2 separate regions of the Homo sapiens genome follow, and region 1 is linked to region 2. Evidence: promoter capture Hi-C in 16 types of primary human blood cells and fetal thymus (Javierre and others, 2016). All regions are on one chromosome and are shown on one strand. The core of a region is centred on a gene start or on the middle of the fragment in contact, and the rest is flanking DNA. Distances in the headings are between cores, read along the strand shown.

Region 1 (4,551 bases), core at 1,985-4,484, 1.3 Mb after region 2:
TTAAAACATGGTTTGAGGCTTAGCTGTGTGAAAGGAATATAAAGCTCAAGACCTTAAAATCACTAAGTCAAGGGAAAAGTCAGCTGGAAAATGCATCAGGCAAACCTGCCTCCAATTTTATTCCTAAATAAGATCGCTACAAAGATAAAAAGCTATGAAGCTCCCTCACAATTTGCCCACAAGGAAATTCCTTGTGGGCCTCAAGATCTTTACCCTCAAACAGTTCTGTTGAATTTCACCCTGGAATGTAAACTGATAGCTGATCTTCACAGGTGTGGGACAGGAGGTCATCCCCCTGCTCACCGGAGACACATGCCTATCTGTTTGCTTTCTCTGCCTTATTGTTTATGTAAAAATGCAGATTTACTAAGCTAGACCAAATTGTGTATTCAGTGAAAGGACTCAAAAGAATGCAATCTTTTGTCTCTTATCCACCGATGACCTGGAAGCTGGAAGCCTCCCTCCACCCCCACAACCCCACCCGGCCTTCAAGGTGTCCTGCCTTTCCAGACTGAACTAATGTACATCTTTTTTTTTTTTTTAAGACGGAGTCTCGCTCTTGTTGCGCAGACTGGAGTGCAATGGCACAGTCTCGGCTCACTGCAACCTCTGCCTCCCGGGTTCAAGCGATTCTCCTGCCTCAGCCTCCAAAGTAGTTGGGATTACAGGCGCCCACTGTCAGGCCTCTGAGCCCAAGCTAAGCCACCATGTCCCCTGTGACCTGCACGTACACATCCAGATGGCTGGTTCTCGCCTTAACTGATGACATTCCACCATAAAAGAAGTGAAAATGGCCTGTTCCTGCCTTAACTGATAACATTGTCTTGTGAAATTCCTTCTCCTGGCTCATCCTGGCTCAAAAGCTCCCCTACTGAGCACCTTGTGACTCCCACTCTGCCCGCCAGAGAACAACCCCCCTTTGACTATAATTTTCCTTTATCTACCCAAATCCTATAAAACGGCCCCACCCTTATCTCCCTTCACTGACTCTCTTTTCAGACTCAGCCCACCTGCACCCAGGTGAAATAAACAGCTTGATTGCTCACACAAAGCCTGTTTGGTGGTCTCTTCACATGGACACGAGTGAAACCCACCACCGCGCCCAGCTAATTTTTTGTATTTTTAGTAGAGACAGGGTTTCACTATGTTGGCCAGGCTGGTCTCGAACTCCTGACCTCAGGCCATCCACCTGCCTCAGCCTCCCAAAGTACTGGGATTATAGGCGTGAGCCACCGCGCCCGGCTTAATGTACATCTTATACATATATTTTTTCTTCTTTTTCCATCTTACACATATTGATTGATGTCTCATGTCTCCCTAAAAATGTATGAAAGCAAGCTGTGCCCCAGCCACCCAGGGCACATGTCATCAGGACCTCCTGAGGCTGTGTCATGGGCTTGTCCTTAACCTTGACAAAATAAACTTTCTAAACAGATTGAGTCCTGTCTCAGATATTTTGGATTCACAGCTGCTAAGCTGCTCGGTTACAATTGAAGGCTCATGGGTTAGGGGTTGTTCAAAGGTAGTTTGGTGAACAGGGGGCTAGGGCATGGGGAGTGCTGATTGGTTAGGTGCGAGATGAAATCTAGCTGTCCTTTTGGTCCTTTTGTGCTGCATGGCTTCTGGGTGGGGCCACAGGAGCTGTTGGCAAGACATTTAGCTGGATCCATCCGTGTGAGACATGCAAGAAACCTGCAAAGGTACAATAGTGATGTTACCTGCAGGAGTAATTGGGGAAGTAGCTTATCTTGTGACCTCCAGAATAATGGCTGACGAATGTTTACATCTGCATCTTAGTGGAATTCATGCTCCTCTATCCTTCTAGGCTGGTAGTGTAACCGCCCAATGGGTTCGCCTTGCCCACTGCCTAGACAGAACCGATTTATCAAGGCAACGGAATTGCAATGGAGAAAGAGTAATACACACAGAGCTGGCTGTGCAGGAGAGCAGAGTTTTATTATCACTCAAATCAGTCTCCCCAAGCATTCGGGGATCCGTGTTTTTAAGGATAATTTGGCGGGTATGGGCTCAGAAAGTGGTGAGTGCTGATTGGTCAGGTCGAAGATTAAATCATAGGGGGTCAAAATGAGTTCTGGCTGACTTCTGTCCCTGGGTGGGATCACACACATGGTTGAGCCAGATTATCCGTTTGGGTGGTGTCATCTGCTGCATCTGAATGCAGGGTCTACAAAATATTTCAAGCACTGACCTTAAGTTTTGCAACAGTGATGTTATTCCCAGAAGCAATTTGGGGAGGTTCAGACTCTTGCCGCCAGAGGTTGCATGGCCCCTAAACTGTAATTTTTAATCTCGTAGCTTAATTTGTTAGTCCTACAAAGGCAGACTGGTCCCCAGGCAAGAAGGGTTTTTTTGGGAAAGGGCTATTATCAATTTTGTTTCAGTTTAATCTATAAACTAAATTCCTTCCCAAGGCTAGTCTGGTCTACACCCAGGAATGAACAAAAGCAGCTTAGAGGATAGCAGGAAGATGGGGTGGGTGAGGAGATCTTCCCCTGTCATAATTTCTTCAGTTATGATTTTTGCAAAGGCGGTTTCAGTGGTCTCATTAGCTTTACAAAGGCTGTTTAGTTTTGAGGAAGGGCTGCTATCACTTAAACTATAAATGTCTCCCAAAGTTACCTTTGCTTATCCAGGAATAATTAAGGGCAGTTTTAAGGCCAAAGGCAAGATGGGGGTTGGCCAGATCTCCTTCAAGGCCAACCTTCTCTCACCGATACAATTTTTTGCAAAGGCGGTTTCAGAACGTCAGAACGCCTGTCTTAATGTAACTGTGGCCCATGTAACGATGTTTAGAGGGTCTTATCTGATTTCTAAAAGGTTGAAATGCTTGTAAGGGCTCTGCTGGACCTGCCCGTGCGTCTTTCCTATAAATGCGTCTTTTCTGTAAATGCTGGGAGGGAGGGAGACAAGGAATCAACACAGCCCCAGGGCTGCCCTGGGTTTATTCCAAGAGTTTGAATCGCGTAACTTGGAGCTGTGTAGCGCCCATGCCATCCACGCTAGGCCTGCGCTCAGAGTCAGGCCTAGGCACTCGGCCATGATGCGCGTCGGACCGAGCCCACCCCGCTCGGTTCCTGGGAGCAGCAGTTCAGCCCTCACTGGGCCGACTCGGGGACCGCCACCTGCACCCACCCTCTGCTCGCTGCGCGCTTCCGGGGTCGCGTTAGAATCGCGTCAGAGAAGGGCGCCCCAGGCCGCGCATGAGCAGGAGCAGAGCCAACGTGTCAGCGGCGCCCAAGCGGCCCCAGCGGGCTCGCGTCGCCCCGCTCTCCTCACCGAGCCGCCAATCGGCTCAGGATCCGCCCCTGACGACGCGGGCCCCGCCCCTGGAGACACGCGCCGCGCAGTCGTCACCCGCCCGGGATCAGGAGGCCGGGGGCGCCCGCCGGTCGGGCCTGGGCGGCCGCCATGAAGCTGACGCGGAAGATGGTTCTGACCCGGGCCAAGGCCTCGGAGCTGCACAGCGTGCGCAAGCTCAACTGCTGGTGAGGCGGGGCCTGGCCGCGGCCGCCCCGGGGTGGGGGGAGGAGCCGGGGCGGGGCGAGGGCGGAGCCGGAGGGAGGAGCCGGGGCGGGGAGAGGGCGGAGCCGGAGGGAGGAGCCGGGGCGGGACGAGGGCGGAGCCGGAGGGAGGAGCCGGGGCGGGGAGAGGGCGGAGCCGGGGCGGGGAGAGGGCGGAGCCGGGGCGGGGAGAGGGCGGAGCCGGAGGGAGGAGCCGGGGCGGGACGAGGGCGGAGCCGGAGGGAGGAGCCGGGGCGGGACGAGGGCGGAGCCGGAGGGAGGAGCCGGGGCGGGACGAGGGCGGAGCCGGAGGGAGGAGCCGGGGCGGGGCGGGGCGGGGGCGGAGTGGAAGGGGGGAGGGGCAGGGGCGAGGGCGGCGAAGGAGCCGCGGGTGAGGGAGGGGAGGAGGCCGGGGGTCGGGGTCGCCTGGGCCCCCCCCCATTTCCCGGCCCGCCTTTGCCCCGGGTGCCCTGTGGGCTGGGTCTGTTGTCTGGGGTTGCCAGCAGTCACTGGGACCAAGTCGAATAGGAGAGAGAACTGAGCTTTCCAGGACTGAGTCAGGAAACACGTTGGTAATCAGTACTGGGGGCGGCCGTTCCCAGGGTACTCCTAGCAGGTGACAGGAAGGGACGTGGGTGCGGTGGGACCCAGGCAGGCTGAAAGGCAGGTAATGCTGAGTCTCACTGAGCCAAGGAAGACCAGGAGCTTCCAGAAGAGGGAGCCTGGAGTTGAGGCCTGCAAGATCTCCAGGGTTCCCTGGGGACTCAGCAGAGTGACCGCGCCGTGTCAACTGGCCTCACCGTGCAGGCGGGTGTGGGGGTCAGCGAGAGCAGACGCTTCCTCCCAGGGGTGTCCGCAGACTGCCCAGAGTGAGCTCTTCCCTGTTAATTAAAAAGCTTTTCTCTCTGCCCTGGCATATCTGGTGTTTTGGCTACAATTCCCGTGTCATTTGCTTTCAATAATGCATTTCTTTGTTTTGCATGGGGTGGTCAGTACTCCCACTAAGCTGGGAGAAACAACAACCCTGTTT
Region 2 (4,657 bases), core at 1,537-4,036:
TTGTAAATTACCTAGTTTCAGGTATTCTGTTATAAGCAAAAGAAAACAAACTAAAACAAACTGGTACTTTCTTAAAGGAATGGTTGTTAAGAAAACAGGGTTTCATTTAATGTCAGTGATTTGTTACTTGATGCCCATACTCAAGCAACAAAACTCCCACCTAGAGAGACAGTGAAGACTAAGCAAAGGAAATTGAATGTTGTAGCATAATTATCCTCCTTAAAAAGAAGAATAAAATGGCGTGTTTTCAAGACACGCTCCCATTCAACATAATTTCCCTGATCAAATTTTATTTAATAATATGAATTCTGAAATTAATTTTAAAGTACACTGGAAAGGAAGTTTGAGCTCCCCCTGCCCCAAAACACACACACACACACACACACACACACACACACACACAGAGAGAGAGAGAGAGAGAGAGAGAAAGAGAGAGAGAGAGAGAGAGAGAGAGAGAAACAGGTGACACGGATTCAGCACCATGGACAGCGGGCCCATGACGCCTTGCCTCTGAGTCACTGCCACCAGGGATGAGAGCTGAGACATCAGAGCTGCCCCAAAATCTACAGCATTTATTCTAATGTTTAAGTTGGGGCAATTCCAATACATGAGCAAGTATTTTCCTTGGTTATGGCCCAAAGCACTGCCTTCTTCACTGAGAGGATACACAACTTACATCTACTAAAATCTGTTTCAGTGTTCACCTTTACAATAAAGCCATGAGACTTTTGTAAAAATAGAAATGATTCTGCCATTGACACAGGAACTGAAATAATCAAAACTGATACACAGAATCCAAATCTGAATAGCTAGATTGGTTCAAGAAGCTCGTGAGGCTTTTTCAAATTTATAAATGCAGCATGCTGTCAGCCTCCTCAGAACAATAGGGTAAAGAATAGCTTCTTCAAAACAGCTAGCAAAATACAACTATATGTTGAACTTTTTCGCATAAATAGCTAAAAACGTAACCACAAAGCTGTGTGGGTTTTCCCCCACCATGAGCATTATAAAGATATCTGGGAAAGTGATGTTTTGAGGTCCAAAAGCACCACTAATCAGCAGCACCTGGGGCAACGCCAGCCAAAAAGCCCTGAATTCTAGACAGAGTCCATTTTTTTCAGTTATAAAGACCCCATTTATCATCAAAACTTTTTCAAAACCTTATAATATTATCAACTAAGAAAATACGTGAAGCTACGTAAGTTCTAAACCATTCGTAATGAACTTGCACTGTATAAACAACAGCATCTACATACAAGCAAAAAAAAAAAATACTGCTCGAAAGTGAGACATCAGTTAGTCGGTCACTGCACTTGTTAGTTTTAAGGCCCCATGTTTTCTGACAGATCTCCAAGCCTGAAAACACCAGAACTATTTCTGCTTCTGTCGTGTGATGATCAATTAGGTCCTTTCAGATCTTGCAAATGATCCCTTTAGAGTGCCACTGTTCTACAAACACTCCTTTTGGGGCCAAAATAGGTATCTCTGACACGCTTTAAGATGATGAATTATTCTTGAATATGAGGAGGACTGGGAGTTAGTTCTCTTAAATAGGGAAGCACCCTTGCACACTCCTTTGGGATCCACATCTGAGAAAGTCCAAAGAAAAGAAAAAGGGCAACAGTTTGCCCCTGAAAGTGAGTTCAATTTCAGAGGGATATGTGAGGGCCTGTGCCAGAGGAATATTTTTGAAATGGGGGGAGTCTATAAGTTGCCCAGTCTAATCTCTAAAGGCCTCTCCGCAAGGCCCTGCTGCTCAAGATTCCTTCTGGCGAATCCCACTCTACAAACACTCAACAACTAAGAGTGCTACTGGCTCACATGGAGGGCTAACAAGACCTGCAAATCCAGGCTGCTCTGAAGGACGGTGGAAGATAACCAACCCCGAGCCACGAGATTTAGGACCCGACTTTTGGTTAACTTTCAAATTTCTTATGCCAGTAATATACTTCAGAGTGGCGCGGAGGGAATTGGAAAACATCACCAGGCAAAAAAAAGAAAAAAACTCTTTCACGAAACAAGACTTCCAATTAGAACACGTGTGGGGACAATAAGAAACACGTTCTAACCACCCCCAAAATTAAAATAAAACACAGCGAGCAACAAGAGAGACCTGCGCGCGCCCCACCGCCCGCGCGCGGCTCTCCGCAGGGTCACCGAGGGGTGAGGCCGCGCTCTCCCGGCGGCCGTCCAGGGGGAGGAGGCCCCGCGCCCCGCCCCGCCGCCCTCCAGCCGCCGCGGCCGCTCCGGGGTGTTCCCCAGATCTCTTCTCAATCAAGAGATGAAATTTGTGCCGTTTTGAAACTGAAGCCTCAAGTAGTCCAGACGTTTTCTGACCCACATCCGAGACGTTCTCGGCTTCCCGCCGCAACTTCCGAATTTGGGGAGGGGGCGGAGGCGGGCGGGCCAGGCCTGGCGACCGCACCTTGAGGGAGCGCGAGTCCCCTCGCTGCCCCGGGCCGCCGCAGGCGCCGGCGGCGGTCGGGGACGGCGCGACCCAGCCCGGGACCCCCGCCCGCCCCGGCTCGGGCGAAGTTTGCCGCGGCCCGGGGTCGCCCCGTCACTCGGCCTCCGTCGGGGACTGGGTCCCCGTAACCCGCAAGGGCGCCCGACCCCGACCCCGCCCGCCACCGCTCACTCACCTGCCCTGCGCCGGACGGCGAGCCCGCGGGCCGGCGGGGAGAGGCCGGGAGGCCCGGGCGGGGTCGGGGCGAGGCGGGTGAGGAGGCGGCGGCGGAGCCTAAGTCAGCCGAAGCGGCGGCGACCGCGGCTGAGGCGGCTGAGGCGGCGGTCGCGGCTTCAGGCGCTCCAGCCCGAGCGCTGCGCGCGGCGCGGGCCCGCCCCTCTGCGCCGCTAACCAATCTAGCGCCGCGCGCCGCCGCCGGCCCCGCCCCCGCCCAAGGGCAGGCTCGCGAAAGCGGGCGCCGCGGGCCAATGAAAGGGCGGAACATCAACCGGCGCGGCCAATCCGAGCCCGGAAAGTTCTCTGGAAAAAGCCAACTCCAGTCAAAGGGGCGGGGGTGGGGCTGGGGGCGGGGCGGGGACCTGGCCCAATGACGCGCGGGGCGGGGCCGAGCATTGGGCGGGGAGGAGGCGGGGCCTCGAACGGGCGGGCCGGTCACTAGTAGTGGGCGGGGTCGTAGGCGGGACATTGAGCGGGCGGGGCAAGAATCGGGGCGGGGGCCTAATGAAGTGAAGCGGGGAGGGGACGGGCAGTGGGAGGGGCAGGTCACATTTGGGGTGGGGTGGGGGCGGGGCAGGGGCGGGGCTGAGTACGGGAGGCCAGGCCGGGGAGAGGCCTAAGTCGGGGCGGGCGGGAGAAGGGCAAGAGCAGTGGGCGGGGCTCGGGGGTTAGGGGATTAGTGCCCTTGCTGGGGCGGGGCCCAGGCTTGGGGCGGGCCTGTGGTGGGCAGGGCCGTGGATGGGCGGGGCGAGCCTTCGTGGGCGGGCCAGGCCTGTGGTGGGCGGGGCGGGCCGTTGGTGAGCGAGACCTTGGTGGACGGGGCGGATCCGCGGTGGGCGGGGATTTGGCGGGCGGGCGGGTGGGCCCGACGGGACGGGAATGGCCGTTGAATTCCCAGCCGTGCCGCAACCCCGAAGGTCCCCCTGCAGCGCCCGCTTCCCGTTCTCTGTGGGCCTGGCCCCGGCCCGGAGGCTGGGGCCGCAGCGCCCGGCGGGCAGGGGCCCCGAGCGGCTCGTGAGCCTGTGCCCAGACGCTGCCCGCCCCGCGCTGGTCCCGCCGCCCTGTCCCCTCCGCCCGCCCGGCGTTCGCGTGCCGTGGCCTGGGGCGGGGCGTTGCTGGGCCCCGGGGGCTGCAGGGGGAGGCCGCCCTTTCTCTGGGCTGGCTCCGGGCTGTTCCGCTCCGCGCCGTTTTCCCGGTACTTCCCGCGGAGCCCGCCTCGCTGTGCGTCCCCGCCCGGGCGTTTCTTCCGCGGCGCTGAGCGCCCGCCCCGGCCTCGGGCAAGGGCAGCCGGACGCCCCGAGGACCAGGGCGCTGGGGCCGAGGCGCGTCCTCCGCAGTCGCCGCGCCTGGGCCCCGTTTCCCCGCGGGTCCTCGCCGGGGTGGGAGGCGCCTCTTGGCGTCCGTGGGGAGCTGGGTGTGGGGGGCGGCAGGGCAGGAGGTGGGGGGGCTGAGCCGGAGAAACGTCCTCGCCCCGCCCGAGACCTCAGACACCCCAGAACCTCGGGCCGGCAGCCAGCTGCAGGAATCGCGCCCTAAAGCCTGGGGTCCGCGCCCGCCCGCCTCCCGCGAGCGCCAGGGGCTGCCGGGTCACCGGGATGCAGCCTCGAGGCGACGTCACAGACCCCACGCGGCCCCCCGAGCACCCCCGGAGCCGGCGCGGGGACAGGGGTTCGGGATGGACGGAACCCACGCAGGGAACGTTCCGGGCCGTCTACGCCAGGCTCAGGGCGGCCGTCAGCTGGGGTTGGAGGTGGGTCAGGAAGAGATGTGTCCTTTTGTCTCCAAATGTCGCTTGTGTCATTAAAAGACAACCTTAAAATAGAAGAAAAAAAAAAAAAAAAAGCCTGGGCTGGCGTGAGGAGGGGCCGTCCGCGAGCTACGGAGGCTGAGTCGGCGGGGAAGGGAATGTGGAGTGGGGCGGGGGGGGCGCTTGGCGAACCCGTGCTTTGGACGCGCTTGGCGGTTTCGGGGAGA

What was found. The method cuts DNA at HindIII sites, captures the fragments that hold promoters and counts their contacts. A CHiCAGO score of 5 or more calls a contact.
Region 1: a contact is called between the fragment with the promoter of CFAP410 here and the fragment with the promoter of PCBP3 in region 2, in 1 of 17 cell types (erythroblasts). The highest score is 7.1, in erythroblasts.

The regions. Positions count from the first base shown.
Region 1 is chr21:44,338,073-44,342,623 of GRCh38, reverse strand. It overlaps CFAP410 (cilia and flagella associated protein 410), which reads left to right and starts at 3,234. Exons shown (of 7, transcript NM_004928.3): 1 at 3,234-3,506. The coding sequence starts at 3,430. RefSeq lists enhancers at 1-550, 551-1,193, 3,056-3,275 and silencers at 3,276-3,645, 3,946-4,065. The HindIII fragment of the contact is 4,638 bases long and covers 1-4,419 here.
Region 2 is chr21:45,641,854-45,646,510 of GRCh38, reverse strand. It overlaps PCBP3 (poly(rC) binding protein 3), which reads right to left and starts at 2,786. Exons shown (of 18, transcript NM_001384156.1): 1 at 2,643-2,786. RefSeq lists silencers at 2,132-2,271, 2,592-3,581. The HindIII fragment of the contact is 8,393 bases long and covers 1-4,657 here.